7 separate regions of the Homo sapiens genome follow, and regions 2, 3, 4, 5, 6 and 7 are each linked to region 1. The links are contacts of gene promoters, found by promoter capture Hi-C in blood cells and fetal thymus (Javierre and others, 2016). All regions are on one chromosome and are shown on one strand. The core of a region is centred on a gene start or on the middle of the fragment in contact, and the rest is flanking DNA. Distances in the headings are between cores, read along the strand shown.

Region 1 (3,928 bases), core at 718-3,217:
ATGACAGAATAAAGTATGATAACATTTCTTATGCATACACATAACAGAGGGAAAAATAAAAAAGACTGGAAGGAAATACCAAAGTATAAAGTAGCTACTTCTGGATGGTGGGACTTTTATTTTGTTCTTTTGTTTTTGTGGAATCTTAAAAAATTCACGTGTTACTAATAAAGTCAGGGAAATCAATAACCATCAATGAATAATTCCATGATGTAATGTGTCCAACTGTTTCCTCATTTTAGGGAAAACGATATTGAAGCCTTTGTACAGACAGACCTCAAAAGTTCTCGCCGGGAGTGGTGGTTCATGCCTGTAAGCCCAGCACTTTGGGAGGCCGAGGCGGGTGGATCACCTGAGGTCAGGAATTCAAGAGTATGGCGAAACCCCGTCTCTACTAAAAATACAAAACTTAGCCGGGAGTGGTAGTGGAGCTGCAGGAGAGGCTGAGGCAAGAGAATCACTTGAATCCGGTAGGCGGAAGTTGCAGTGAGCCGAGATGGTGTGCCATTGCACTCCAGCCTAGGCGACAGAGTGAGACTCCGTCTCAAAAAAAAAAAAAAAAAAGTTCTGTGATTACCTACAGTAAAATACTGCATCATCCCAATAAATACATCAAAAAAACCATCAGAAATATCACTGTAAAAGTAACATGCTACTTAGATGTAAAAGTGACATGCTACTTAGAAACTCTGGTACCTACTGCATTATAAACATAAAGCTCATTTACTGAAACTTACCATACCTTAACTGTCCCTTCTAACCTTCCAATCCAAACAGATTTTAGCATATGTCTTACTATAAAACACTAAGTCACTGTCAAGGACCCCAATTTATACGTAAAGGAGAAAGTATAAAGAATTCAAATATCCCGAGGCAGAAAAACGACAGACAGAATTCACACTCAAGTCTTCCTGACTCCAAAGCCTGAGCTCTTCCCAGTTCGCCAATCTTCCCAACTTGTAAACCTTGTGTTGCCGGCCACATAAAGATCCCGCAAAAATCAATCAACAACTAATTAATGGGGGCTGCCTTTTGCTCTAGCTACTGTGGGAGCCCCAGAAGTAGTACCACAAGGCCCTTGACTTCAAGCTTGCATTCTTCTTGAAGAAGGTATTTAAGAGAATGAGATGAGGAACAAGAACACAGGTAAAATTAGATGTAAAAAAAAAAAAAATAGCTATACTGAGGGACCGGTCAGATGAAGGAAGGGCTGAGATTACTATGGGCTGAAGCTGTCATGGAAGGCCTGGATGGGGAAGGCCTTGAAGGAGATGATTATTTTTCGCTCACTCATTCGTCTATCTACACATAACATCTATGTGGCAGGCACCATTTTAGGTGCACTGGCAAACAAAACCAAGTCCTGAATGTGACTGCTGAATAAAGAGTATAAAGGAATGTGCACAGTGAAGGATTTAAGAACGTGGAAGGATCTGGAATCAGATTACCCTAAGTATAATGCCCAGACCTGCAGCCAGGCACTGCGGGCAAGCTCCACGGAAAACAACTGTTGTCACCCACCCATTCACCCCGACTCCCCAGTTACAGGCACTACTTAGAGGTGGTTATCGAGCCACGCAAATCCCCGAGGACGCTCGAGAAGCACGCGCCGAGAGCGGCTGCGTATTGGAGAGGTGATTCTGTTATCTTGGAGCGCCCCAAAAGAGGGGTGGAGGACAAACGGCGTAGGCCAGGTATCCGTCCGGATGCAGAGCCTTCATCCTGAGGCCGGTCCCCTCTCGACCCAGGAAGAACACAGACACCGATCTTGGCATCCATACCCGGCCCTCCCGCGTTGGGTACCTGCGCCCCGAGCCCGGGGGATCCCAGCCAGTGGAGAAGGGGAAGCACGTGGGAGCACGGAACAACTCCGAAAGAGAAGGCACAGCTGACTGCCCCTAGCGTATGCCTGGTGTCCGGGTCACGTAGTAAGCCTGGCTCCGCGGCACGCGTCCCTCTCAGGAACTGGTAGACAGCACGTGCGCAAGCGCATTAAAGTCGCAGAGATGGCGAGCGAGAAGGGACCTTCCTCAAGGCTGTCGCTGAGTAATGACGTAAGCCACCAGAAGCGGAGCTGAGGCCTAGATGTCCACTGCGGTTGCGCATTTTAGTCCCACTGCTCGCGGTAGCTGGGTGTTGGCTGCGGTTTGCCTCTTCACTCTTCATATCCCAGCTAAAGTACCTCGGCTAAGAAGGGCAAAATAGATGTCCGCACCCCAGGGCCTGCCCACGTAGGTCCAGGGTTTTCAGCGTCAGCCTGGTTACGCGAAACGCGACGGATCCAACGATTTGTGTTCAATTTAACCGATCCCCGTTAAGTTGAGGAAACTCGGCCAACAGACCTATTTTATTGGTTTCGCTTGGCCCTCCACCCCCACAGTACTGATCTTACAGATGGGAATCCTGTAATCTACCCATGACTGCGGCCGCTGTACTTTGCAGGCTCCCATTAGGCCTGTATATGGTCGTCAAATGAAATTACTCCCCCTGGGCTTCCAGTGAACTCCAAGAACATGACTACAGGGACAACCTATACATAGTGTTGCATTCTTGACTTTGGGGCAGATCGCTGAACTTCAAAAAACATTATCAACTGCTTGATGTTTCCTCCTGGATACCGCAAATGTCTGAATCCAAACCCCTTCCCCAGATACACTTTTAATGTCATCAGCAGCACTACCCATTTAATCCAACATCCATCATGAAATTTTTTAGTTCATTCAGCAAAATGTGAATATGCCCACGCACTATTCTGCTCACAAGGGATAGTGTCCAAAATGTTCCTGCCCCTCGTGGTTAATTCTAGGTTAAGTTTTAAATGCTATTAAGCAGAAGTATCCAGTGAGTAAAGTGACTAAGGATACTATTTTAGAAACGAACACTGAAGGCCTCTGACGGGGTGACACTGGATGGAACAAGGACCTGAAATTTAGAAAGAATGAGCCCTGAGAATATGAGTGAAAAACTTCCCCGTGCCAAAGATGTACATACAAAAGCTCCAAGATGGGGGAGTCCTGGCAAAGCAGTCAGTGTGGCCAAAGCAGTGGGCAAGTGAAGGACCAGATTTAGAATTTAATTCTAGTCATGATGAGAAACCACTGGAGTTTGTGGGGGACAGGGAAATGAGAAAATCTGCTTTGCCCTCTTAAAAGGCTTCCTGTTATGCAAAAACTAAATCACAGGAAGGCAAAAGTAGAAAAAGGAGAACAATTATAAGCTATTGTAGTCACCTGTGCTAGGATGGTAGTTGTGGTAGTAGTTAGAAGTATAAGATAACTCTGGATATTCAAGTTAGAACCACGTGGACTCACTTAAGGATTAGATGCAGGTTATAAAAGTACATTGAAGATGGCACCCAAAACATTTGCTCTGAGCAACTGGATGAATGAACAACTGGTGTTGGGTAATCAAGGAGTTGACTTGGAATATTGAGAAATTCATATCAAGATGTTGAATATGAGTTTTGAGAGGTTTGGGGCCTAGAAATATTCAGGACTAAAATGCTGATCATATTCAAAATCATGGGATTGGATCAGATCACCCAGGGAAGAACACAGCTAGAGATGAAGTCTGACATCCAAGACCTGGAGAAATCAGCAAAGGATACTGAGTAGTGACCAGTGAGATAGGGAATCCATAGAATCCATTCACTACCACCACCCCATCCGCACCTTAAGTTGGAATCCATTTCTCACATGGGCCACTCCAACAAGCCTCCTTACCATCTCTTGGTCCATATATGTTGTTCATTGCATTGAATGTTCTTTAAATGGTAACTTTATTAAGTGAGCCACCAACCCCACCCCAAACAATACAGCCTTTTTTTTTTTTTTTTTTTTTTTTTTTTTTTTTTTTTTTTTGTGAGACGAAGTCTCGCTCTGTCGCCCAGGCTGGAATGCAGTGGCGCGATCTCTGCTCACTGCAACCT
Region 2 (3,928 bases), core at 1,018-3,517, 390 kb before region 1:
GAACTCCTGACCTCAGGTGATACACCTGCCTCAGCCTCCCAAAGTTCTGGGATTACAGGTGTGAGCCACTGCACCCGACCTGGAAATGATTTTTTAAGAACACTGCATAAGATTGAGAAGACATCAGTTATCTATAACAAAGAAGGAAGTGGGGGATTAATGGACTCACCCTCTGATCTTTCTCTTGAAGATGCATAATGAATATTATGTGACTTTCAATTACCTGCTCTGTGCACCCTGGGGATACAGCACCACCACCATCACCCTCTCCTCTGCTCAGTTTCAGAAGCTTGAGTCTTGTGTGTGTCCTGATGATTAAGAATTTTACAAAGTCACACAGACTCGCCTGTGTCCCCAGCTTTTAAACCAAAGATGGCAGCATTAAGGGACCTAACTCAGGCTGGCAATGCAAAGACAAATTAGCTAGGTTTGGTTTCTAAGCTTGGTTTCTAATATAACTCCTATTTTTTTATGAAGAAAATAAACCGAAGGTCTAGAAAGGGACAAAGCAGCTGGCTTACACATTAAAAAAAAAAATTAGAAGTGTTTGAAGGAATGTAATTAAAGTGGTGACACGGGAAGCCCAGGAGGTAACCCTAATATTGACAAGTATAAGTGGATGATATTTAATGAGCACTTGCCATATGCCTGGCCCTGTTCTAAGTACTTTCCATGTATTAATTTACATAATCCTTTTAATAGCCCAGATAAGTAGGTCCTATTATTTTTATTTTGCAGACGAGTCCAAGGAGGCAGGACCACTAAGTGTGAGAGACCATGTGCCCTTTCAACTTTGAAGGGGAATTCAAAATATAGGAATCCTGGTTTCAAGTTTGAGAACAGTGATTTTCAAGGAGCTTCCTGGAGCTAATACCTTCACCTCCACTCCCAGTAAAACAGGGTTGCTTTTTTCCAGATAAGTTTTAACTTGAAGAAAATATTATTCAACCATAAAAGAATCCTTCAAAGTCTTAGCATGCCCACTCCAAACAATAATCTTGAAGGAGACAAGTGGCCAAAAGCCTGTCAGATTGTTCATCACAAAGTGATGGCCAGGAGTGATCCAGCCCATGAAGACATTTTGACTGGGCTTCCCGTGGTGTTTTGTAAAAACCAAGCCAGTTGCCACACTTGAAAATAGAAATCAGGAGATTTCAGTTAGCAATCTGGTCCTGGCAACACAAGGCCCACCTTTCCACAAGGCAAGGGGTCGGGTAGCCATTGTGCACTTTGGCATGAACTTTCCAATCCCCACTGTCTCCACATGGGGCCACTTCAGGCATAGACATTATCTGCTGACCCTGCGGGCATCTGGTGCACCCACCCAGCTCTGAAAGCTAAAGTCCTCCTTCTGAATTTAAATGCATCTCAGATTATAGCATCACTTGTGAAAATTCCCCTAGAATTTCTGAAAACTCCCTCTAGTTCAATTCTTCCTTCCAATGCAGCTGGCCCTGAAACAAGTGTCCTGACCCACTTCAGACTTCAAAGGAGCTGGCAGAGCCTGCTGCTTAATAATAGTGACCTATGGGCATTCAGATCAAGCCTACCAGGCCCATGATGGTCTACTGGTCGACATAGGCAGAAGGGCCTCATGGCTCAACTTTCCCAAAATGTTGAGATTATTTTATAAATGATAGAAGCGTTGAGAAAAACACTTTACATTTCCAGACAACACAACCCATTAAAAATAATATATTCTGCGGGTATATAACCCCTTATTTGATTGCCCTGAGTTCATGTCTTCCAAGTAGCAAAAGGGTCTTCTTCATGTCTTCATTAAGGTTCTAAACACTATCATCTTCAGTCTCTCCATCCTCTTTCTGATTCTTCAAAGCTAGATTGTATTTTTTATTTTTTCTAGTCAGGCTCTGCTTATCCATTATTTATAATTACAATTACACATATCTACCTTCATCCAAATCTTGCTTTAGTCAGTCTTGAGATGTGTGCCCAACTTGGTCCTCCTCAACCAAGAAGAGTGGGGCGTGGTAAGAGGGAAAATGCCACTTTTCCCTCTTCAGTAGCTCCTTTACTGACAGGCCGCGTGACCTTACAGGGGTCCCGTCAGTCCCCGGAACGGCAATCTCCTCACGTGTAAAGTGGAGAGAGTGACTGTCAGTCACCTGGTCAGTCAGTCACACTCACTGAGGTAGGCCTGTGGTGGGCTAGGCCAGGCTCCAAGCACTCCTGGTTCAGGGCGAGCAAAAGCTCTAGGTCTGGAGGGGAGGGATGAGGAGGACGCCTGATGGGCACTCAGTGAGGAGGAAGAGACCTCTGCGAGGGGGAGTGAGGATGAGCAGAGATTCCTCAGGAGAAGGCAGATGGGGACCACGTTCCATCCAAAGAGAAGTCGCTGTGGGAAGACTCTGGGCCGTGGAGCCTCCTGAAAGAGAAGAGCAGGAGAGGGGCTGGTGAGGAGGGGCTGACAGCGGCGTCCCTCGTCTGGGCAGCCTCCGCTCTGCCACTCTCCTCCCGTCCTGAGGATGGGACCCCCGGAAAAGAGGCCTGCCATGGCACCCAGAGCAGCCATTTTCCTCCCAGTTCTGGGGCTTTGGAAGGAGCTTGCGGATGAGGAGAGGGAGCCTCCGCAGGGCTCTGGCTCCCCTCCAGGGGCCGAGGCCGCACACAAAGCCGCTCTGTGGGTGAGCTTCAAAGCAGAGCGCCGAGGAGCAGGGAGCCAGCGCCAGCAACACCTCCCCGGTGTGGGGCCGACTCCCCGCCTGGGCGTTTCTCCGAATCCTTGAGGCCCCCTTGGCTTCCGCAAACAATATGGCCCTCTTCAAGTGCCAAAGAAAATAACAAGGGGGTGGAAGCAGAGAGGGGAGGGGAGGGAAACGGGAACAGAGCCTTGGCGAAACCTTTCCATGAAATCAACTGTGCCCTCCGACGGCCGCACACCGATGGCCATCTAGGGCAGGGCCCGCAGCTGAAAAATGTCAAGGCTCATAAACATCTCTCACAGGACGCCAGTAAAGTCCAAAAGGCCCCTCAGGTTTACTAAAGCCAGAAATCAGTAGATGAAAGCTCAGGCCGAACTCAGGAATGGCCCCTTGTTCTGCCAGGAACCCCTGCCTGCCCTGAAGAGCCCCCACGGGCCTGGTAAGCCAGCTCCAGCCAGTGGCCAGTGAGCAAGACCTGAGTCATCGGTCTCACCGGCTCCCTGGCTCTTCCTATCTGCCAGGTAGAGGCTACGACATCAGCCTCAAGCACCCTGGCACAATATTGACGCTTTGATCTTAATGCATATAAAATTCTGAAAATTTTTAAATAAAATAAATCAACTGCCCCTCCACCCACCCTTCGGTGGTAAAAGAGATCTCTGGAAGACCTTTGAGTTTTAAGGGGAGCCTCTATTTCCTTTTTTGTGGAATAGCCCAATTACACCTACTGGATAGGATTGTTGAGGGGACCTGAGAAACTTGAGACGACAAGAACGCGTAGCGCCTCGGCTGGCTGAGGGTGCTGAGTGAGTAGTAGCACCTGACAGGCAGAGGACCCACCTCCTGCCTGGAATCATCAGCAACTGACAATGGTGCGAGTTCTACTCACCTTTAAACGCTGCAAATCGCACCACTGCTATTTGCTGTGGGGTATAACATGTGAGGGACCCTTTCTGTCATCGTCACCTTAGCCACTCTCTGCTCTCTGCCTTTCTTTTCAGGCCCTCGTGTTGTGTTCTCTCCAGCTTTCCCCGTGCCTCAGCCACTCTTCACGTTCCATCTCTGCTCTGTGCTGACCCGGTATGGTGGTGTGGGGAGAGCAATGGCTTTCAAGTTCAGGCTAGGGTTCAAATCCAGCTCTGCCACACGCTGGCGTGGGTTCTTGGGAAAGTCCTTCATGACTTTCAAGTTCCTCTTCTGTGATCTCCTGGGGGACGGGGGACCAAACCTGTCCACCATGAATCCTTAACATACAACGTGTGGCT
Region 3 (3,928 bases), core at 471-2,970, 360 kb before region 1:
CAATTACAAATTGATCTGTTGTGAAATCAGTGCTGAATTAACATTAATGTAACTCCAGTGAAAAAAATGAATTTGATCAATTATTATCAGGAATAAACATTAAGCCATGACGGTGCTCAAGTTATCTTCTGATGACACTGCTGTATTAAATGTACTTTTCCTATGAGAACCTTAGAAAAATAAAAATTTCTGAGTAGATCATCTTTATCTTTTCTTTTTATATATTTATAGCCATATTTTAATATAATAGGCCATGAGGTGATATGTAAACATACATAATTTCAACAAATTTTGTCAAATAAAATCATATTTCTAGCTAGAAACTTGCCTTCTAATCATTTTAAATGAATAATCCAATCATCCGTCAAAACAAATTTTTTTTTTAAATGACTGTTAAATCCTAACCTTCATTTTCCCCTGGGGAAATAGCATTAAAATTGTTACACAATCTGCTATAGAAAGTGGGATTCTCTATTTTGAAGCCACTAGCTTGCATTTGCACATCTAGCACAGGAGAATCTTCATCCAGTGATGAGCGGGTTACACGGATGAACGCTAAGCTTCGCTGCACAGGTGCAGGGCCCCGGCCTCACAGATTTGCCTTCTCCCTTGCCGCCAAGTGAGATCCGGACTGCACAAAGGTGTGAATCGCATTCTGTTTTAAAAGAACAAGATGAGCAGGTTAATCACCTCATGGGCAGCAACGTGATATTTACTCAGTTTTAATATGTATGCAAATGAAAATAATAATTCAGAATTCATTCACTTTAACTGTCTTAAATTGCCCAGCGCTAAAATGAAGAGTATGTGTTTTGCCAGTGAATTCTTTATCTCTCAAATGAATTTCTGCACAGCTGCCTAAGAAATCTAACAGTGGCAGGTAATGGCCCCTGCAGACTGTAATGCTAAGTGGTAACTAAGTCATGCCTACTCCAACCCAGCACACACAGCCTCTGCATGGCCAGGCTGCTCCCAGCTTACCTTAGGCTTCTCAGCATTGTACTTGTCCAGAAGAGCCTGGATGTGGCTCCCGTAGTCAGGGTGGACCTCAGTGAAGTTCTTGACCTAAGGCCAAAGGAAAATAAATGCAAGCATTACTCTAACTCCCTACTATATCACTCCCCAGGGACTGTGGTTTCCCAGTGTTTATTCCATAGGGGAGGAAAGACGTTTCAGCAGGAGGCAGTACTACAGGTGTTTAACAATGCCAGCCTCAGAGTTAAGATGCAGGTCCAGTGAACACTCTGACATATACTGGCTGAGCAACCTCGGATAGGTCACTTAACTTACTGAGCTTATGTCCCTCTGCCGAAATGCGCAAGAAAATGACACCTAATCAGTATAATTTTAAAAATACTATTTGGTCTTTGTCCCCCATTCCTGACACAGATCTAAAACCCTTCGAATGTACTGTCTTTTATATACTACTAAGATGATTCATGGGGGCCTACATAGATTCCTGATGGAGGCTCACACCAGGAAGAACAAGCACGCGATCAGAAGGTTAGAACTTCTAGCCCCACCCCCAAACCTCCAGGGATGGGAGAGGGGCTGGAGATTGTATTCAATCACCCATAGCCAATAATTTCATCAATCATGCCTATGTCATAAAACCTCCAGAAAAACCCACAACTGGCAAGGTCAGGGAGTGTCTGGATTAGTGCACACATCCAGGAGCTAGAAGGGTGGTCCACTCAGGGAGGCACAGAAGCTCCGAGGCCTTCCCCCATGCCCCTCTTCCATTTGTCTATTCCTGAGTTGTATTCTTTATAATAAATTGGTAATCATAAGTAAATCATTTTCCTGAGTTCTATGAGTCTTTCCAGCAAATTATCAAACCTGAGGAAAGGGTTTGATTTGCAGTCAGAATCTGCAGAAGTGTGCATAGCCAGGGTACCTCATTTGTTATCTAAAGTGGGAAATGACCCCTAAATCTTTGGGTTCTGACTCTAGCTCCAGGAGCTACTGTTAGAATTGAATTGAGTTATAGGACACACAGTTACTGTCAAAGAATTACAGAATTGCTTATTGTCGGGGAAAAAAACCCATACAACCTAGGCCAGGCGCAGTGGCTCACGCCCGAAATCCCAGCACTTTGGGAGGCCAAGATGGGTGGATCACCTGAGGTCAGTAGTTCAAGACCAGCCTGGTTAACATGGCAAAACCCCATCTCTACTAAAAACACAAAAATTAGTCGGGCATGGTGGGGCATGCCTGTAGTCCAAGCTACTGGGGAGGCTGAGGCAGGAAAATCTCTTGAACCCAGGAGGCAGAGGTTGCAGTGAGCCGAGATCATGCCACTGCAGTCCAGCCTGGGTGACAGAACAAGACTCCATCTTAAAAAAAAAAAACCCACACAACCTACCTCACAGGATGCTGTGAGAAAAATGCTGAGAAGTGAGGTGCATTTACTGCATGAAAAGAGCTGACCTCAGAGTAAGCGCTTAACAAATTACAGTGATTTACATTGAGAAACGGGCCCAGACACAGCCTAAAGTTAATGTGAAGGATACAAGAACACTGGTACATGCAGCACAACTCCACACACTTCAGGCAGGAATTCCCCAGTGGACAGCAAGAGGAGGCAGGGCATTGGGAACCCATAAAAGCCTTACAGTTTCAGCATATGTGAAAGGAGAATGCCAAGGGTTCCAGCCCAGTTCTGCTATTTACAAGCTGTCGTATCCATTCTCTCCAGTAAAAGGAGATAAATCCTGCCCTGCCTACCACACAGAGCGCCTGTCAAGCTCTCTGCTGATACTGGAACCCAGGCTCTGGGACACAGCCCAGACAGCTGCTAGCCCAGCTGCCCCTAGGAACTGAGAAGCAGCAACTAGGGGCCAAGGAAAAAGGGGGATTTCTAGATTTGCAAAAAGCTTAGCTCTGGGACAGGCCAGGAAACCAGAAGTGAGAGGGCTTCACTCAGCTCGATGAGCGGCCATCAGAAATACCCCAGCACCTTAGCATGAAAGTCTAGCCTGCCTTTTGGAAGCATTGCAGTTCTTATTCCAGAAATCATGCAAATTTCTAGTCTGCATCTGAAGGAGGATCGAGGTATTATGACATTAAGCCTTTAGGCAGGTTTTAAACCATAAAAATGCAAAAAAGAAAGACAGACTGATTGACTGATTGACTGATTTTAGAGACAGGGTCTCCCTATGTTGTCCAGGCTGGCCCTGTATTCCTGGGCTCAAGCGATCCTCCCATCTCAACCTCCTAAGTAGCTAGGACTACAGGTGCATGCCATCACACCGGCTGATATATTTATTATCATCCAAAGTTTAAGTAGAATTGCAGCAGGACTCACATTTTGATATTGCACATTTACTATCTTGCACAGAACTTGGCTGCAGCTGAATTAAACAGAATAGGACAAAATTCAGTCTGAACACAACTAAATTAGTACACACTGGACAAACAGCTAAGGACGATGGATATGCCAGACCAGATAAAACATGGAAAGAAAATAATCAGAAGTTGGTTGGGGATTACTAGTTTATTTTTTTTTTTTTAAGTTCTCTTAAGTCAAGTAAAACAGAAATGGCACTTTCTTTTTAGGGTTCTCCCACACAGCTGCACTGTCTTCCTTAGCCAGCAGAGGACACCCTTCAGCTTACAAAGACTCACCGCTTTCTTCTGGATGAAAATTTGTGCATCCTTCAGGTGGCCGGCAATGTTCTCACACAGACGTTTCCTCTGTTCCTCATTCAGCACGTTCACATAGAATGCCCGCACCTGCTCAGAGAAAAGAGCAAGTGCAGAGAATTGAATCACCAGTTTATCACCAACAAAATTCACCTACTACAACACTTAGGAAATCAATGATAAAAAAAACTTTAGAAGTTAAGAATAATTTTAAATTTTAAATTTGGGTTGTGTCCTTCACTTTTTGTTTTAAGCAAAATAAGTAAAATTCATTTGTTAATAG
Region 4 (3,928 bases), core at 904-3,403, 350 kb before region 1:
GTATTCTATTATTTGAATTTTTACACTCATGTTACTTTCCAAATCAGAAAAATCAAAATATACTTAAAAGTAGGCAAAAGATTAATAAAATTAAAGGACTACTTGCCTTTTATCATGAAGTAATGTTTTAATTCCATTTCATGACAGCTCAAATCAATTACTGAGACTGTGCTCGGCCAGTATCCCTTCACCCCTGTCCTATTCCTTTTTTTTTTTTTTTTAATAAATCATAGAATCATAGCTCATAGAGTTGAAAAGAACTTCAGTACAGCCACCTGGAACTAGTTCTCTGACTATGAGCAGGCAAAATTAATATTCTGACTTTCCAAGCAAGACATTAAAACCCAGAGAAGCTGTGTCACTTCATAAGTGCTCCTGTTATCATATCATACTGTTCTTTGATGGACTGACCATGTGATCTTATTCTCAAAGACCTCCCAACAAGCCAAGTGCCGCAGAAAGATTTCCTTAGCAAAAATCAACTCTGAACGCTGGTCTATTTCTACCACAGAAATCCCAACTGTCTCATCAGTGAAAAGGTTTGAACTCTTACTACTGAACAAGAAGTAAAGCCACCTTCAGGATTAAAACAATGAAGGTCACCATGTACAGATCGCCCAAAGAGCTAATATATTAAGTAGTACAATAACACTGCAATACCTTTCTGATTTTAACTGAATCCTTTAGGTTTAGAAAAGAATAATCTTAGGTCAGAATAATCCAGACTGATGAATCCATGTAGATCTCAGGCTACCTTAGGGCCCTAGGATAAAAGACCCACAAGCAATCCAATCTTTCCAGGACTTGTATAGCTGGTAATATTATGCCAACTTCACAGTGAAAAGAACTGGAGCTCAAAGAACTTTTAATACTATGCCCAAGGCCACAATTATCTAGGAGAGTAGAAATTTGAGTTCAGGCTGGCATAACTCCAAGGCTACCAACTAGACTGGCTGTCCTAGATACAACCACTTAGTCTTATTCTAAGTAATACTACATTGACCCTTTTGGCAATTACAAGCCAATGGGTCAACTGTTTCATAAAATTTTTCCTTGTCAAATATTATAGATCCAAGTTATGAATATAAAAAGAGGTGATAGTTTTCCTGTTTGATATACCTACATTAAATTGTTCAGATAAAGAAGAAAGCAGGATAGAAGAAAATAGGGCTTTTGGATGTCACTAAGAGAGAGATTATCCAGTACTGGTCACGAGCCCACTTCTTTCTGCTTATCTTAGCAGCAGTATTTGGAAACAGAGGTTCTCAGGCTTGTTTCTGACTAGCCCTTGGGAGTTCTCTGGGAATATCACTAACATGCCAGGGTTCACTGGCAATATTGCTCATTGTAACAAATGCCATGCTTATACCAAAAGAGGGCCCTTTATAATATTTCAGTTGATTAAAACATTCTCAAAACCCTCCCCAGATGTAACTGATTTGATCTGGCTATATGAATGCAAATTTTTAAAAACAGTATAATTTTGTTTTCTGACATTTGTAATTGATTTTACTTATATGCCTTGTTCATAATAAAACCTCAATAAATGCTAAGTAAATAGATGGATGACTTAAAAAGTTAAAAGAAATGATATTGGAAAGACACTATTGGATGTTGGAAGTGATAATGAGATTGGGATACGCTCCAAGGTCCTCAGATGGTAGCCAACAAAATCAGTACTGATCAATGAGATCAATACTTCCCAACTTTGGGGATGGAGGTGAGGGAAAAGTGGGAGAAGCCTTAATCTTTGCTCAATCCTTCAGGAAAAATAAGGAGGTATGCGGTAGGAGCCTTGTACCCTCTGCCCCAAAGGTAACACATACCTTATAATGGAATTTGCAATAAACTGCCTCCCCATTTGCATTAACCAGCTTGAAAGTATGTGATCCATATCCATTCATGTGGCGATGTCCATCTGGAATCCCCCGATCACTGAACAAGAAAGAAACCTAAAGAACAGAAATATAAAGCCTAAAATGTTTTCATTTAAATCAAAACATCCTTGATTTTTAAGATATTCCTTAGTTTCCAGAAAGTCCCTTAATGACATAAAACATACTAGCCAATTTCCCATGGGAAGGGTTACCATTATTATTTCACTTGTAGAAAATAACAAACAGAAAAATTTTAAATCAAAATGATATGCAAATCACTAATACTATGACTCAAAATTCTATGAAGGAAAGCCAAAACAACCTGAAAACTGGCCTAATTTGTTATTCAAAATTTATTTGCATAGCAAATTTGTTTGGTACTACTTTCCCCCCACTTCCTTAATACAGAGCTTTACCTTACACTACAGACTTTCATCCTTACTACTGCTAAATATCAACTGACAATGTTGCTAGCTATCTATCATCATCATCATCATCATTTAAGGCCGATGAATGGGGGATGATTAGTAAAGCCAGTTACTACAAAACTCTTCACGATCAAGAAATCTGAGGAAGCTGATTCCAATAAAATAGCCAAAACTGGAGAGACACTTTATGAAGAGGCATAATTAAACACTGCATCCCAGGTGATATAATACAATGGCAAAAAAGGGTTCATACCTGATGCAGAGACTCAGGACGTAGGCTCCAGAAGTCCCAGACCATGTCCGGATCCTTCAGATGTGTCTGAGGATTTCTCTTTTGGCTGTGGATAAAAGATGGAAACTAAATAGAAAAAAGAGAGAAAAAAATCCAAAAACTAAGTTTACAGGAATTATGGTGTCTTTCATTATATATGCCTATTACTAGGTTTATGGATTATAATTCTAAATACAATCCTAGAATTTTAAACTGCCAAACCATAATATGAAATTTACTCAGCATAGACAACTAGCATCTAAGATACCCTAAAGTATTTCAAATATACTCAAAACTATAGTCTTTTCTTTTTTTTTTTTTTTAAGACAGGGTCTCACTCTGTCACCCAGGCTGATTGCAATGGCATGATCACAGCTCACTGCAGCTTTGACCTCCTGGGCTCAAGCAAATCTCCCACCTCAGCCTCCCAAGTAGCTGGGACTATAGGCATGAGCCACCACACTTGGCTAATTTTTGTATTTTTTTGCAGAGATATGGTTTTGCCATGTTGCCCAGGCTGGTCTCGAACTCATGGACTCCAGTGATCTGCCTGCCTTGGCCTCCCAAAGTGCTGGGATTTATAGTATTTCTTCACGGAAAAAATATACCCACCCTCCCGCATGCGCGCACGCACACACACCCCCTCCTGCTGACTCAGAGCATGTAGAGACACCCTCTGCTTGTTTCCAAAGTAAAGTCCCTCTTTTTACTAATCTTCGATGCTCTGCAAGGAAAACTAAACTCACTTCCCATTAAGTCAATCTGTCTTAAAATGACAAATCTAAGACCAATGGTAACTGTTCTTACTTTATCTTATTAAATACAGAAAAATGTGTTGAAAAAAGTAGTCCAGACAACTCGCATTCTTTTCTTTCTGCCTTTCCCACGGCTTCTCCTCAAATGCCAACCTATTTGAAATCAATTTAAGTCAACAAACATTTGTTGAGTGCAAAATACTCTATTACCTACCAATATGGGATCCCTGATGAAGAAAATGGGGGTGTTATTTCCAACGAGATCCCAGTTACCATCTTCTGTGTAAAATTTCACTGCAAACCCACGAGGGTCCCGAACTGTGTCAGCTGAACCCGATTCTCCAGCTACAATATTCAAATGGAAACAGGAAGCATAAGCCACAGCACTTTGCATCCAAGAAGCCTGGAGACATAAAGAAGCACCTGGATCCATCCTTTCTAATCCACTTCCAAGAACTAAATTAGGTATTTAAGTGCCCGGGTTATTATTTCTACCCACCAGCTAATTCAGTCCACAAATCAAACAAAATAATTAATTGAGAGCAATAAGAGAACACATGTAATAACAGCTGACAATGTCATTCATTTACCATAATA
Region 5 (3,928 bases), core at 96-2,595, 330 kb before region 1:
CCGGTTATCAGCATCCTTCAGGCCGCCCTGGGACGCGGCCGTTGGTGGCCTGCCAGTTTTGCAGACGGAATACTTAGACCCTGCTGGGTGGGGCCTTGCGCTCCATAGCTATGCTTTCTCAGCTCTTAAAAAGTCAGCAATCCTGGGTTAAATTACTCTGTACAAAATTAAATTTTGCCATACGCTAATGTAAGTATTATTTGCAACCAAAGGATGGATGGATGCTTTTCTTTTTCTTTCTTAGCTCTTCTTAACTTATTCGTGGATTATCACTTACTAGACTAGTATACTAATTATTTAATATAAAAACACTCTGAAACGTTTATCTCCGTACAGATGGGTGTTGATTTCCTCCTTTACCAGAGAAAAACAACTTAACTTAGATGGGAAAAATGTATTCCCTTGTGATGGGAAAAATGTATTCAACTCTGGTACACTGCCAAATTGGCTTCTTTAAACACTGGAGAAATCTGCTTCCCCAAATTTTACCCCCAGGTAAGCAGGAATTTTGAAAAGCTTTGTGTCTTTAAAAAGCTATGTTGAAGAGTAAAATACTTAGTAATATATAGTACAATATTTAGTAAGTTACTGACTAGTTTGTCATTGTAATCAAAGAGTTTGAATGATTTCTACACCTCCTCAGGTGCTAGGATTTATCTTTAAGCACCTTAATATATATACATAGTATATACCATCATCTTCAAATTAAAAGTTATCAGCTTTTAATTTTTTCCAGTACAACTACATATAATGGGTGGATATATAATAGTGGAAACTTCACATGTTGTTCTTGATCTTACAAAAGTATGATAAGAATCTTGGGCATAAAAGTGGAACTTTAGCAGTTCATTGGAAAAGAAAGCCACAAATTGATCTTTAGCACCCTATACTTTTCCTATATTAAAAACAATTATAAAGATGCTGTTGGCTGTGTAATTTGGTGTCTTTTTCTACCTGCCCGATCCATACTGCCAAGACTGTAAACTCCATGTGGGTCAGGATCCTCCCATCCATAATTTATTGAGCACTTACTATATACCAGGGACTATTCTCAGCTTTTTGTATATTTGCTTAGTTAACCCTCCCAACAACCCTATGAGTTAGATACTAATATTATCTTCATTTTACAGATTAGGAAACAGAGGTATAGGGAGGTTAAATAACTTGCCCAAAGTTACACAGCTATTAAGGGATAGTCAGGATTCTAGCTTCAGCTGTTCATCTCCAAAGTCCACAGTTTGTTGAATAAATAAATGTTGAAATAATCGAGCAAATCATCTTCTTAACTAACCAACACAAATATCAACAAAATAAATAAGAGACCTGGAGTCATTTCTTAACCTTTATTCATTATATAAAAAAAAGCATGTTTTTTTTTCCTTTGTTTTTGTTACTATGGATTTGAATTCCTAAAGAATTATTTCTAGAGAAAGAAATGGAGAAACAAGACTGGTTTCTGATCTTGTCATATCTTGTATTTTAAAATAAAGGGCAGGCTTACAAGTAATGACAATAAATTTATAATGTTACATAGGAGGCTGGGTGCGGGGGCTCACGCCTGTAATCCCAGCACCTTGGGAGGCCGAGGCAGGCGGATCACTTGTGGCCAGAAGTTCGAGACCAGTCTGGCCAACATGGTAAAACCCCACCTCTGCTAAAAATACAAAAATTAGCTGGGCGTGGTGGCACACGCCTGTAGTCTCAGCTACTCAGGTGGCTGAGGCGAGAGAATCACTTGAACCCAAGAGGCGGAGGTTGCAGTGAGCCAAGATTGTGCCACTGCACTCCAGCCTGGGTGACAGAGTGAGGCTTCATCTCAAAAAAATTAAAAATTAAAAAAAGTCACATATTAGGTGGAAGTTCTATCGACTATAATTACAGCTTAAATGAAAACACTTCTTAAAATCAGCCCTAGTTAAAAAATACTTGAAACCAAACCAATACAATTACCTAAAGGTAATTGCAAGTGATTGGTTAGGTAAACAAATTGGGTTCTAGGTTTTAATATTTTAGTCATATGAATTCATGGGTATTTTTATTGATATAAATAAAAATGTTATTTTAAAAATGCTGTTCTCTGAAGTCAATTTTCAGAACTCAATGAAAATAAAATATACTGGCACAAGACATACTGTTATTAATCCTGGTATCAACAAATTTGAAACCAAGCTTGCAAAGTAGACCATGTAACAAATGTTCAAGAAAAACATTTGAGTACTCAGCTAGGAATCTTTATAGACAAATTTTATTTCATCAGTATTGCAAGAAAAGAATGGAGAGAATGAACATCATGTGTTGTTGGATGACAGGCATACAAGACAGCACAAGGGGTAATTACTCTGTTCTGATTCCACCCATCCTCAGAGAGGCCGAGAATGTTCTACATATTTCAGTTTCATTCTCTTCACAGTGGCCTTGTGAGGTAAATTCAGAGTTAGGCAAAAAGGAAGAGAAAAGAACACAACAAGAAACAAAGAGAGTTACAATTCAGTATTGGCTGTTGGCTTTAAGAGAAGAGAATAAACATCACCACAGCTCCATGACTCCTGTTCACTGTGGAACAGGCTTGAGCAAGCCAAAGAAGAAGGTGGGATTTGCTTTAAAAAGTAGCAGTGGTGTTATATGCAGTAGCAGCACATACCTTCTGCTCTGCCTATTTGGCTGCACCATATCTTTCCCGCTTTAATATGAATAATTGCCTACTTGGGAGGAGGCAACCCAGATGTCCTCTGGTGTCTGGTGATGGCCATAGCATGAGCTATGCTAAGGAGAAGAACATGGATGTGCCTTTTCCCGCCTCGGCCTTACGTGCCACGCTACTGATCTGGTGTTTGCAAAAAAAGGAAACATAGGCCAGGCCTGGTGGCTCATGCCTGTAATCCCAGCACTTTGGGAGGCCAAGACAGGTGGATCTCTTGAGGTCAGGAGTTCAAGACCAGCCTGGTCAACATGGCAAAACCCTGTCTCTGCTAAAAATACAAAAATTAGCTGGGCGTGGTGGCTCTTGCCTGTAGTCCCAGCTGCACGTGAGGCTGAGGCAGGAGAATCGCTTGAACCCAGGTGGCAGAGGTTGCAGTGAGCCGGGGTCATGCCACTGCACTCCAGCCCGGGTGACAGAGCAAGACTCCGTCTCAAAAACAAAACAAAACAAAAAACAGAAGAAACATAGAAATAATAATTGGGAATTTGTTTTTACCTTCACTTTTTTTTCTTTTTTTTTTGAGACGAAGTCTCGCTCTGTCACCCAGGCTGGAGTGCAGCGGCAAGATCTCGGCTCACTGCAAGCTCTGCCTCTTGGGTTCATGCCATTCTCCTGCCTCAGCCTCCCGAGTAGCTGGGACTACAGGCGCCCGCCACCACACCCAGCTAATTTTTTTGTGTTTTTAGTAGAGACGGGGTTTCACCGTGTTAGCCAGGATGGTCTCGATCTCCTGACCTCGTGATCCACCCACCTCGGCCTCCCAAAGTGCTGGGATTACAGACGTGAGCCACCTCGCCCGGCCCTTAACTTATTTTTTATACTTACTAATGGAGGCTTGGAAAATGCAGGATAAAATATCAAACAATCATTCAAAGATTACGATAAACAGGTAACATTTTTACCAATATTTTCTCTCTTATATGTTTGTAAAGGAGTGTGTGTGTGTGTGTGAGAGAGAGTTTTACAATGGATCCTATAGAATACATAATCTTATATCCTGCTTTTTCCACCTAACATTATCAGATAAAACTTTTTCCAAGTCATTAAATCTTTTTCCAAAATGTGATATTTTTCTCCTATGCCTACACAATTTGCAATCAAAGGACTATTCCTTTATTTACATACTCCTTTACTGAGAACATTTAAATTGTTTTCTTCTATAACAGTACAGTGACATCCTTCCTCTACATTTGTATTTATTTCCTTAGGACCTGTTTTCAGAGGTCA
Region 6 (3,928 bases), core at 600-3,099, 310 kb after region 1:
GCCATGAGCATGCCACTGTACTCCAGCCTGGGTGACAGAGTGAGACCCTGTCTCAAAAAAAAAAAAAGAATTTTTTGCCCCGACAAATTTCCCTAATGTTTTCTTGTAGTAGTTTCATAGTTTAAGGTCTTAGATTTAAGTCTTTAATCCATTTTGATTTGATTTTTGAATATGAGGAGAAATAGGGGTCTAGTTTCATTCTTCTGCATATGCAGTGATTGCTTTCTAATTTCATTCCATTATGGTCTGAGAACATACTTTGTATTATTTCAATCTTTTAAAATTTATTGAGATTTGTTTTATGGTCTATACTGGAGAATGTTTCATGAGAAGAATGTGTATTCTAGTATTCTCGGGGGAGTATTCTATAGATGTCTGTTAAGTCTTGTTTATTTGTGTGTTGCTTAAGTCTTCTATTTCTTGTTAATATTCTGTCTAGTTGTCTTGTCTAGTGTTGAAAGTCAGGTACTGAAATCTTCAACTATTATTGTAGAAATGTTCATTTCTTCTTTCAGTTCTATCAGTTTTTGCTTCATAGGTTTTAAGGCTGTTAGGTGCATACATGTTTATAATATTTCTATCTTTTTAATGGATTAATCCTTAATTGTTATAAATTGTATTTGTCTCTAGAACAATTTTTGCCTTAAAATCCATTTTGTCTGTTATTAATACAATCACTCCAGCTCTCTTTCGGTTATTTTTCCTTAGTATAGCTTTCCATTCTTTTACTTTCAACCTATTTGTTTGTTTGGTTCTAAAGTGTTCTCTTTAGTCATAATATGGTTGGATCATGTTTGTTTGTTTTTTAGTCCTTTCTGCCAATCTCTGCCTTTTAATTGGAATGTTTAATCCATTTATATTTAATCCAGTTATGGATACAGTAGGATTTATGCCTGCCATTTTGCTGTTTGTTTTATACAAGTCCTGTATCTTTTTAAAATTCCTCTAGCCTCTGATTTTTCTTTATTCATGTGATCTCAGAGCCATTTACTGAAAAAATTCAAACTTTCCTTCACTGATCTGTTATAGCACCTTCACCATATATTACATTGTCCATATATTCCTATTGCTTTTCTGAGCTGTCTATTCTAACGCATTAGTGTATTTTTTTCTATCTCTACGACAATACTGCCCTGAATTAATTGTTATAGATTTATATCTGGTAGGGCAATTCTCCCCATCATATTCATTTTCATCAAGAGTATTTTGGCGTTTTTTTGGACTAGTGCTTTTTCATCCAAATATTTAAATAAGCTTGCCAAATTTTACCAAAATATCCATTGAGATTTGTATTTTTATTGTTGGATGTTCAGATCAATTTGTGATCATTTATATTTCTATGATATGGAGTTTTTAAATCAATTTATTTGTAGTAAGTTAAAAAGTTATAGCTCTTCATTTATTTAGGTATTTTAAAATGCCTTTTATTGGTTTTATAATTTTTTCCAATAATTCTTGCATAAGTTTTGTTAGATTTCTTTCCAGGTTCTATTTTTCATTGCTATTGTAAATGTTACCTTTTTAAATTTCAGCTTTCTAATTGTGTGGTTTATGTATAGAAATATATATTTTTTTCTTTTTGAGACAGAGTCTCACTCTGTTTCCCAGGCTGGAGTGCAGTGGCACAATCTTGGCTCACTGCAGCCTCTGCTGCCTCCCGGGTTCAAATGATTCTTGTGCCTCAGCTCTGAGTAGCTGGGACTACAGGCATGCACCACCATGCCCAGCTAATTTATTTGTATTTTTAGTAGAGATGGGGTTTCACCATGTTGTCTAGGCTGATCTTGAACTCCTGAGCTCAGGCAATCTGCCTACCTTGGGCTCCCAAAGTGCTAGGATTACAGGCATGAGCCACTGTGCCTGGCCTAGAAATATAATTTAATATATTGATTTTATATTCAGGAAACTGAAGATGCACTCATAGTAACTAACATTTTTATGTAGATTCTTTTGGGTTTTCAAAACACATAATGATATAATCTGCAAATTATACAGTTTTATTTCTTCTTTCCAATATCTTTTACCATATATTTTATTTTCTTGCCTTACTTCACTGACTATTTAGTACAATGTTGAATTTAAGCAGTGATAGTGGACATTCCTGTCTCATTCCCAGTCTCAAAGGGAATGTTTCCAATATTTCATCATAAATATGTTAGACACAAAAGACTATCTATTGTATGAGTCCAGGCATAGGACATTCTAGAAAAGGCATAACTCATCTATAGTGACCGCAGATCAGCAGTTGCTTGGGGCTGAGGCTTGGGGAGGAACTGGCAGCAAAGAGGCACAAAGGAATTCTCTGAGGGTATTGAAAATGTAGAACATTGTGATAATGGTTACACAGGCTTATACACCTGTCAAAACTCATTGAACTGAAAGCATAATATTGTATATAAATTATACCTCAATAGAGTTGGTTAAAGCACCCTAAGAAAGCTTTCTTCTCTCTACTGTACTGTATATACAAAAAGGTTTTGGGACTCTCACCATATACATGTGATTCTATTTCAGGTTTCTTCATTCTGTTTCATGGATCTGTCATTTATTTCACTAATACCACACTGTCTTGATAATTGCAGCTTTTTTTTTTTTTTTTTTTTTTTTTTGAGATGGAGTCTCACTCTGTTACCCAGGCTGGAGTGTAGTGGTGCAATCTTGGCCCGCTGCAACCTCTGCCTCCCAGGTTTATGCCTACATAAAGCGATTCTCCTGCCTCAGCCTCCCAAGTAGCTGGAACTACAGGTACCTGCCACCACGTCCGGCTAACTTTAGGTATTTTTAATAGAGACAGGGTTTTACCATGTTGGCCAGGCTAGTCTCAAACTCCTGACCTCAAGTGATCCACCTGCCTTGGCCTCCCAAAGTGCTGGGATTGCAGCCATGAGCCACCGCGTCCAGTCTGACTGCAGCTTTTATTAAGTCCTGAAGTTAAGACCTCCAGACTTTTTCTTTCTGAAGATTGTTTTGGCTATTCTAGGTCCTTTGCCTTTTTGACTAAATTTTAAATTCAGTTTGTCAATTTCTATGTATGGAATATATTTTTGTTACACAAATCAAATTTGCTGTTGCCTTTCCCTGAGGAGAATAGGTCTCTCCTAGGACAGCTTCACCTTGTTTCCTTCAAGGAGGCAGCATGGTAGAACAGGAAGAGGAGGTGCTTTGGAGATGGATCCATCATGTGTTTCCAGCACACTGCTTCCTGATTTTGTCTCTTTAAGCATGTCTCTTGGCGTCTCTGAGACTCAACTTCACTAACTACAAAATATGAGTATGGGGAGCTATTCTAAACTTTTCTCTAAAGGGGCGGGACACTATACTCAAAGCTGCCTTGGTTAATATTGCTCTCCCTTTGTCTCTAGCATTGGGCAGAGCACAGTGCTCCATCAACCTTCATTCCTGCCATTAAGCAGTGTCAATTTGCATTCCCTTTCACGTTCTCTTTCCTCTGATCCTTTTGTAGAAGGATTCCTCCACTTCCCACGTACAGTTTTTGTTTCCTTCTTTACACTCTGGTGCCACCTAGGACATATTATTATTCAAGCAATCACCACATGTGTTAGTCCATTCTTGCATTGCTATAAAGAAATGCCTAGGACTGGGCAATTTATAAATAAAAGAGGTTTAGTTGTCTCACAGTTCTGCAGGCTGTACAGGAAGCATAGTGGCATCTGCTTCTGGGGAGACCTCAGGAAGCTTCTGATCATGGCGGAAGGTGAAGGGGGAGGAGTTGTCTTACACAGCAGGAGCAAGAGAGAATGAGGTGGGGAGGTGCTACATAAACAACCAGATCTCATGAGAACTTACTATCTATCATGAGAACAGTACCAACAAGGATGGTGCTAAACCATGCATGAGAATTCTGCCACCATGATCCAATCACCTCCCACCAGGCCCCACCTCCAATGTTGGGGATTACATTCCATTA
Region 7 (3,928 bases), core at 800-3,299, 270 kb after region 1:
ACACATTTTTACCAATGAGAAATGTTTGCTTATTGCTGTAGTGTAAAAATCCATACTTCAACATTTGAACTCTTGGAAAGCATTTTCTGCATCCTGCTGGTTGTGGAAGCGTTTTCCTTGCAAAAAGTTGTCGAGATGCTTGAAGAAGTGGTAGTCAGTCGACGAGAGGTCAGGTGAATATGGCGGATAAGGCAAAACTGTGTAGCCCAATTCCTTCAACTTTTGTTCAAAGTGTTGGTTGTGTGACATACGGCTGGGCATTGTCGTGGAGAGGAATTGGGCTCTTTCTGTTGACCAGTGCCGGCTGCAGGCATTGCAGTTTTTGGTGCAGCTCATCGATTTGCCGAGCATACTTCTCAGATGTAATGGTTTCTCTGGGATTCAGAAAGCTATAGTGGATCAGACCAGCAGCAGCCCACCAAACAGTGACCATGACCTTTTTTTTGGCGCAAATTTGGCTTTGGGAAGTGCTTTGGAGCTTCTTCTGGGTCCAGTCACTGAGGTGGTCATCGCCAGTTGTCGTATAAAATCGACTTTTCGGCGCACATCACAATCCGATTGAGAAATGGTTCGTTGCTGTTGCGTAGAATAAGAGAAGACGACACTTCACAACGATGTTTTTTCTTTAAACTTTCACTCCGCTCATGAGGCACCCACTTATCGAGCTTTTTCATCTTTCCAATTTGCTTTCAGTGCCGAACAACAGTAGGATGGTCGACGCTGAGTTTTTCGGCAACTTCTCATGTAGTTGTAAGAGGATGAGCTTCAGTGATGGCTCTCAATTAGTCATTGTCAGCTTCCGACGGCTGGCCACTACATTCCTCACCTTCAAGGCTCTTGTCTCCTTTGCAAAACTTCTTGCACCACCACCGCACTGTATGTTTGTTAGCAGTTCCTGGGCCAAACGCACTGCTGATGTTGCGAGCTGTCTCCGCTGCCTTACAACCCATTTTGAACTCAAATAAGAAAATCACTCGAATTTGCTTTTTGTCTAACATCATTTCCATAGTCTAAAATAAACATAAAATAAACTAGCAAAAAAACATAAAGCGAGAAATGCCCATTAAAATGATGTATACGGTAACCACATTTATTTACATTCTTAAATGTAAATAAGAATTATGTTCTTAATTTTATCTTTTCTTGCCTTATGTTTTATTCCAATATCAAACGGAAAATTCTAACAATGCAAAAACCGCAATTACTTTTGTACCAACCTAATATCTATATATATATATATACACACATGAATAATTTGTTATATAATTTGATTTTTTTTTTTTTGAGACAGAGTCTTGCCCTGTCACCCAGGCGGGAGTGCAGTGGTGCGATCTCTGCTCACTGCACCCTCTGCCTCCCAAGTTCAAGAGATTCTCCTGTCTCAGCCTCCTGAGTAGTTGGGATTACAGGTATGCACCACTATGCCTGGCTAATTTTTGTATTTTTAGTAAAGATGGGGTTTTTCCACGTTCGCCAGGCTGGTTTCAAACTCCTGACCTCAGGTGATCCACCTGCCTCGGCCTCCCAAAGGGCTGGGATTATAGGCGTGAGCCACAGCACCCAGCCTAATTTGATTTTTTAAAAACCCAAATATAAGCTTCATATTTATTTCTGCAAAATTCCGTCTACTGGATTACACAGTGTCAATTACAGCCTAACTTTCAGTTGAAAAGCTAGAATCTTCAGAGATTCCCCCAGGGGCCATGGAGGATGGGCTGTTGAGGGTCCCTGATTTCCTCTGCTCTTCCAGAGAAGAGCCACCTGCTAGTCTTCTCCCTCTGAGAGAGAGATTAGGCTTCCATGGCAGTGGAGAAGGTAGAGGGGGCACGAGAGATAACTTCCTGAACACCTCTGCCTCTAACTTCCTACATTGTCCTCTCTGATCCTCATACAGCCAGGAGTGGTGAGTCAAGCAGGTGCTATTGTGCCTGATTCACAAGTGAAGTTACTGAGTTATAACGAGGTGAAGGGTCAAGTTCTAGGCACTTCTCCAACTGTAATGTACATGAGGATCACCTGGGGATCTTGTTAAAATGCACATTCTGATTCAGTGGGTTGGGTGTGGGGCCTAAGATTCTGTATTACTAAGAAGCTCTTGGGTGATGCTGGAGACCACGAGCCTCTCGGTGAAACAGCAGGTGAGATGCTTTAGGGCCAGTTCTCTGGATAGAGGTGGGAGTCGCAATCACATTGCCCCTAGCTCCTCCTGCCACTAAATTTGGCCACTTCTATTTGGAAGTTGGGAGAGGATTATCCTATTGCAGTACTGTGTCTAGAGGGGAAGGTGACTCATGTCCCCTGCTCCTTCCCCAGGCAGAACTCAGAGTTCTTTGTGTCTTGTCTGCTCCTTGCCTGAGCTTTTTGGCTATTTCTTTTTCTAAACTTGAATAAAATACAACAGCAAGAAAATAGCAATGACTCCTGTTGGAGTCCAGTATAGCTGAGATCACCTGATTTTAAGTCGGGCTCAGGTGAGGCAACTTGTTATAATGGAAAGCTTTTAGCTTCCAGAGTTAGACACCTGGGTCCAAATCCTGGTTCTGCCCCTTACAAAATATAAATAGAAGGAAAATGTACTTAAATTTCTTGGCTGGGTGCGGTGGCTCATGCCTGTAAGCCCAGCACATTGGGAGGCTGAGGCTGGTGGATCATTTGAGGCCAGGAGTTCATGACCAGCCTGTCCAACATGGCAAAACACTGTCTCTACTAAAAATACAAAAATTAGCCAGGCGTGGTGGTGCATGCCTGTAGTCCCAGCCACTCGGGAGACTGAGGTATGAGAACACTTGAGCCTGGTGGGTGGAAGTTGCAGTGACCTGAGATCGCACCACTGCACTCCAGCCTGGGTGACAGAGCGAGAATTTGTCTCTAAATAAATAAATAAATGAATAATAAATTGGCCTCAGCTAAAGTGGCAGACTTCCATCCTGACCCTTACTCTGCCCAATAACCCCACTGGAGGGCAGCCCATTTCAGGTTACCCTGCAACATCACCAGAATTCTCAGAATGCTCAGTCTGCAATTCCAAGTTATTCCAAAGCTAAGTCAGTCTGATGTTCTGGGAAGAGAAGCTGAAAGCCCAGCACTTAGGGGAAGTTTGGCCTCCAGGGCATCCCTACAGGTTGTACTCACTGATGGGTGGCATGGTGTGGGGGATGATGGGAACTCAGTTGGGTCTGAGGACAGAACCTCCCTATCCCTTGATGTTAAGTTAGCCAGAGCACACCACCACCAGCCCACATATGATGCTAAACCTCCTTTCCCAGGCAGCCCACACCAACTTCTTCCAGGAGTCGATGTTTCCTATGGAAAATGGATTAAATAAGAATCTCCTTGAATTCATCAGACAGCCCTGAACTCTGATGTCCTGTTGGTCCTGATCTTGACTCCACCTCTCTCCTTGAGGGAACTGGTGTTCTATGGCTAGGACAGACTCGAATCTGAGACTGGGCACATCTGGGGCTCCAATCCACATGAAGTGAGAGAATAACCGGATAAAAAGTGAGTATAAATTGCCATGTCCAAAACAAAATCAAAGCCAGGCTTTCTGGAGTGGAAAGTGCAGAAGAAACTTGTAAAGGGGAGGCCAAACCTAGAGCTGACCCTCATATTCGTGGATTTGCCTTTGTGTTTTCTCATTGGTTTTCCTGCCACCACCATTTTGGCCACACAGGGGCACTGCTTACCCTTGCTATTCTCTTAACTCCTTCTAAGGAGTCTGCCTCAAGACTGAAAAGTTCGAATAGGACCTTAGCAAATGCCAAGATGACATGTAAACTCAAAGCAACATGGGTTATAAGCATGGCCATGAAGATGCCGAGATCATAGGGTCCAGAGCTCCCCAGTTAACCCAGTTGCGCCGCTGAAAGGGGCAGAACTCAATTCCTCTTGGTGGAACTCGGGAACAAGAAGGGAAATGAATGCGGAG

Evidence for each region. Contacts are between HindIII fragments. The CHiCAGO score rates a contact against its expected background, and 5 or more counts as called.
Region 2: a fragment that was not itself captured here is called in contact with the fragment with the promoter of NAT10 in region 1 in 4 of 17 cell types (megakaryocytes, erythroblasts, M0 macrophages and 1 more); the score reaches 9.3 in megakaryocytes.
Region 3: a fragment that was not itself captured here is called in contact with the fragment with the promoter of NAT10 in region 1 in 3 of 17 cell types (erythroblasts, fetal thymus and neutrophils); the score reaches 8.9 in erythroblasts.
Region 4: a contact is called between a fragment that was not itself captured here and the fragment with the promoter of NAT10 in region 1, in 1 of 17 cell types (erythroblasts). The highest score is 5.3, in erythroblasts.
Region 5: a fragment that was not itself captured here is called in contact with the fragment with the promoter of NAT10 in region 1 in 11 of 17 cell types (fetal thymus, total CD8 T cells, naive CD4 T cells and 8 more); the score reaches 14.0 in fetal thymus.
Region 6: a contact is called between a fragment that was not itself captured here and the fragment with the promoter of NAT10 in region 1, in 1 of 17 cell types (erythroblasts). The highest score is 5.4, in erythroblasts.
Region 7: a contact is called between a fragment that was not itself captured here and the fragment with the promoter of NAT10 in region 1, in 2 of 17 cell types (megakaryocytes and erythroblasts). The highest score is 6.3, in megakaryocytes.

Annotation. Positions count from the first base shown.
Region 1 is chr11:34,103,668-34,107,595 of GRCh38, reverse strand. It overlaps NAT10 (N-acetyltransferase 10), which reads right to left and starts at 1,967. Exons shown (of 29, transcript NM_024662.3): 1 at 1,804-1,967. RefSeq lists an enhancer at 1,755-2,214. The HindIII fragment of the contact is 3,708 bases long and covers 1,092-3,928 here.
Region 2 is chr11:34,494,962-34,498,889 of GRCh38, reverse strand. All of the region lies in intron 2 of ELF5 (E74 like ETS transcription factor 5), which reads left to right. Among named protein-coding and RNA genes, the nearest start is that of ELF5, 17 kb to the left of the region's middle. RefSeq lists an enhancer at 2,243-2,742. The HindIII fragment of the contact is 3,648 bases long and covers 444-3,928 here.
Region 3 is chr11:34,468,095-34,472,022 of GRCh38, reverse strand. CAT (catalase) reads right to left here. Exons shown (of 13, transcript NM_001752.4): 11 at 3,628-3,735; 12 at 982-1,065; 13 at 1-655. The coding sequence ends at 590. Among named protein-coding and RNA genes, the nearest start is that of CAT, 31 kb to the right of the region's middle. The HindIII fragment of the contact is 2,316 bases long and covers 563-2,878 here.
Region 4 is chr11:34,451,825-34,455,752 of GRCh38, reverse strand. CAT (catalase) reads right to left here. Exons shown (of 13, transcript NM_001752.4): 4 at 3,546-3,676; 5 at 2,559-2,663; 6 at 1,827-1,952. Among named protein-coding and RNA genes, the nearest start is that of CAT, 15 kb to the right of the region's middle. The HindIII fragment of the contact is 9,504 bases long and covers 1-3,928 here.
Region 5 is chr11:34,434,732-34,438,659 of GRCh38, reverse strand. LOC105376622 (a long non-coding RNA gene) reads right to left here. Exons shown (of 3, transcript XR_931180.3): 3 at 2,338-2,414. Among named protein-coding and RNA genes, the nearest start is that of CAT, 2.2 kb to the left of the region's middle. The HindIII fragment of the contact is 1,653 bases long and covers 519-2,171 here.
Region 6 is chr11:33,792,009-33,795,936 of GRCh38, reverse strand. No RefSeq gene overlaps it. Among named protein-coding and RNA genes, the nearest start is that of LINC02722, 11 kb to the left of the region's middle. The HindIII fragment of the contact is 1,185 bases long and covers 1,257-2,441 here.
Region 7 is chr11:33,829,461-33,833,388 of GRCh38, reverse strand. No RefSeq gene overlaps it. Among named protein-coding and RNA genes, the nearest start is that of LINC02721, 9.1 kb to the right of the region's middle. RefSeq lists a silencer at 3,603-3,692. The HindIII fragment of the contact is 900 bases long and covers 1,600-2,499 here.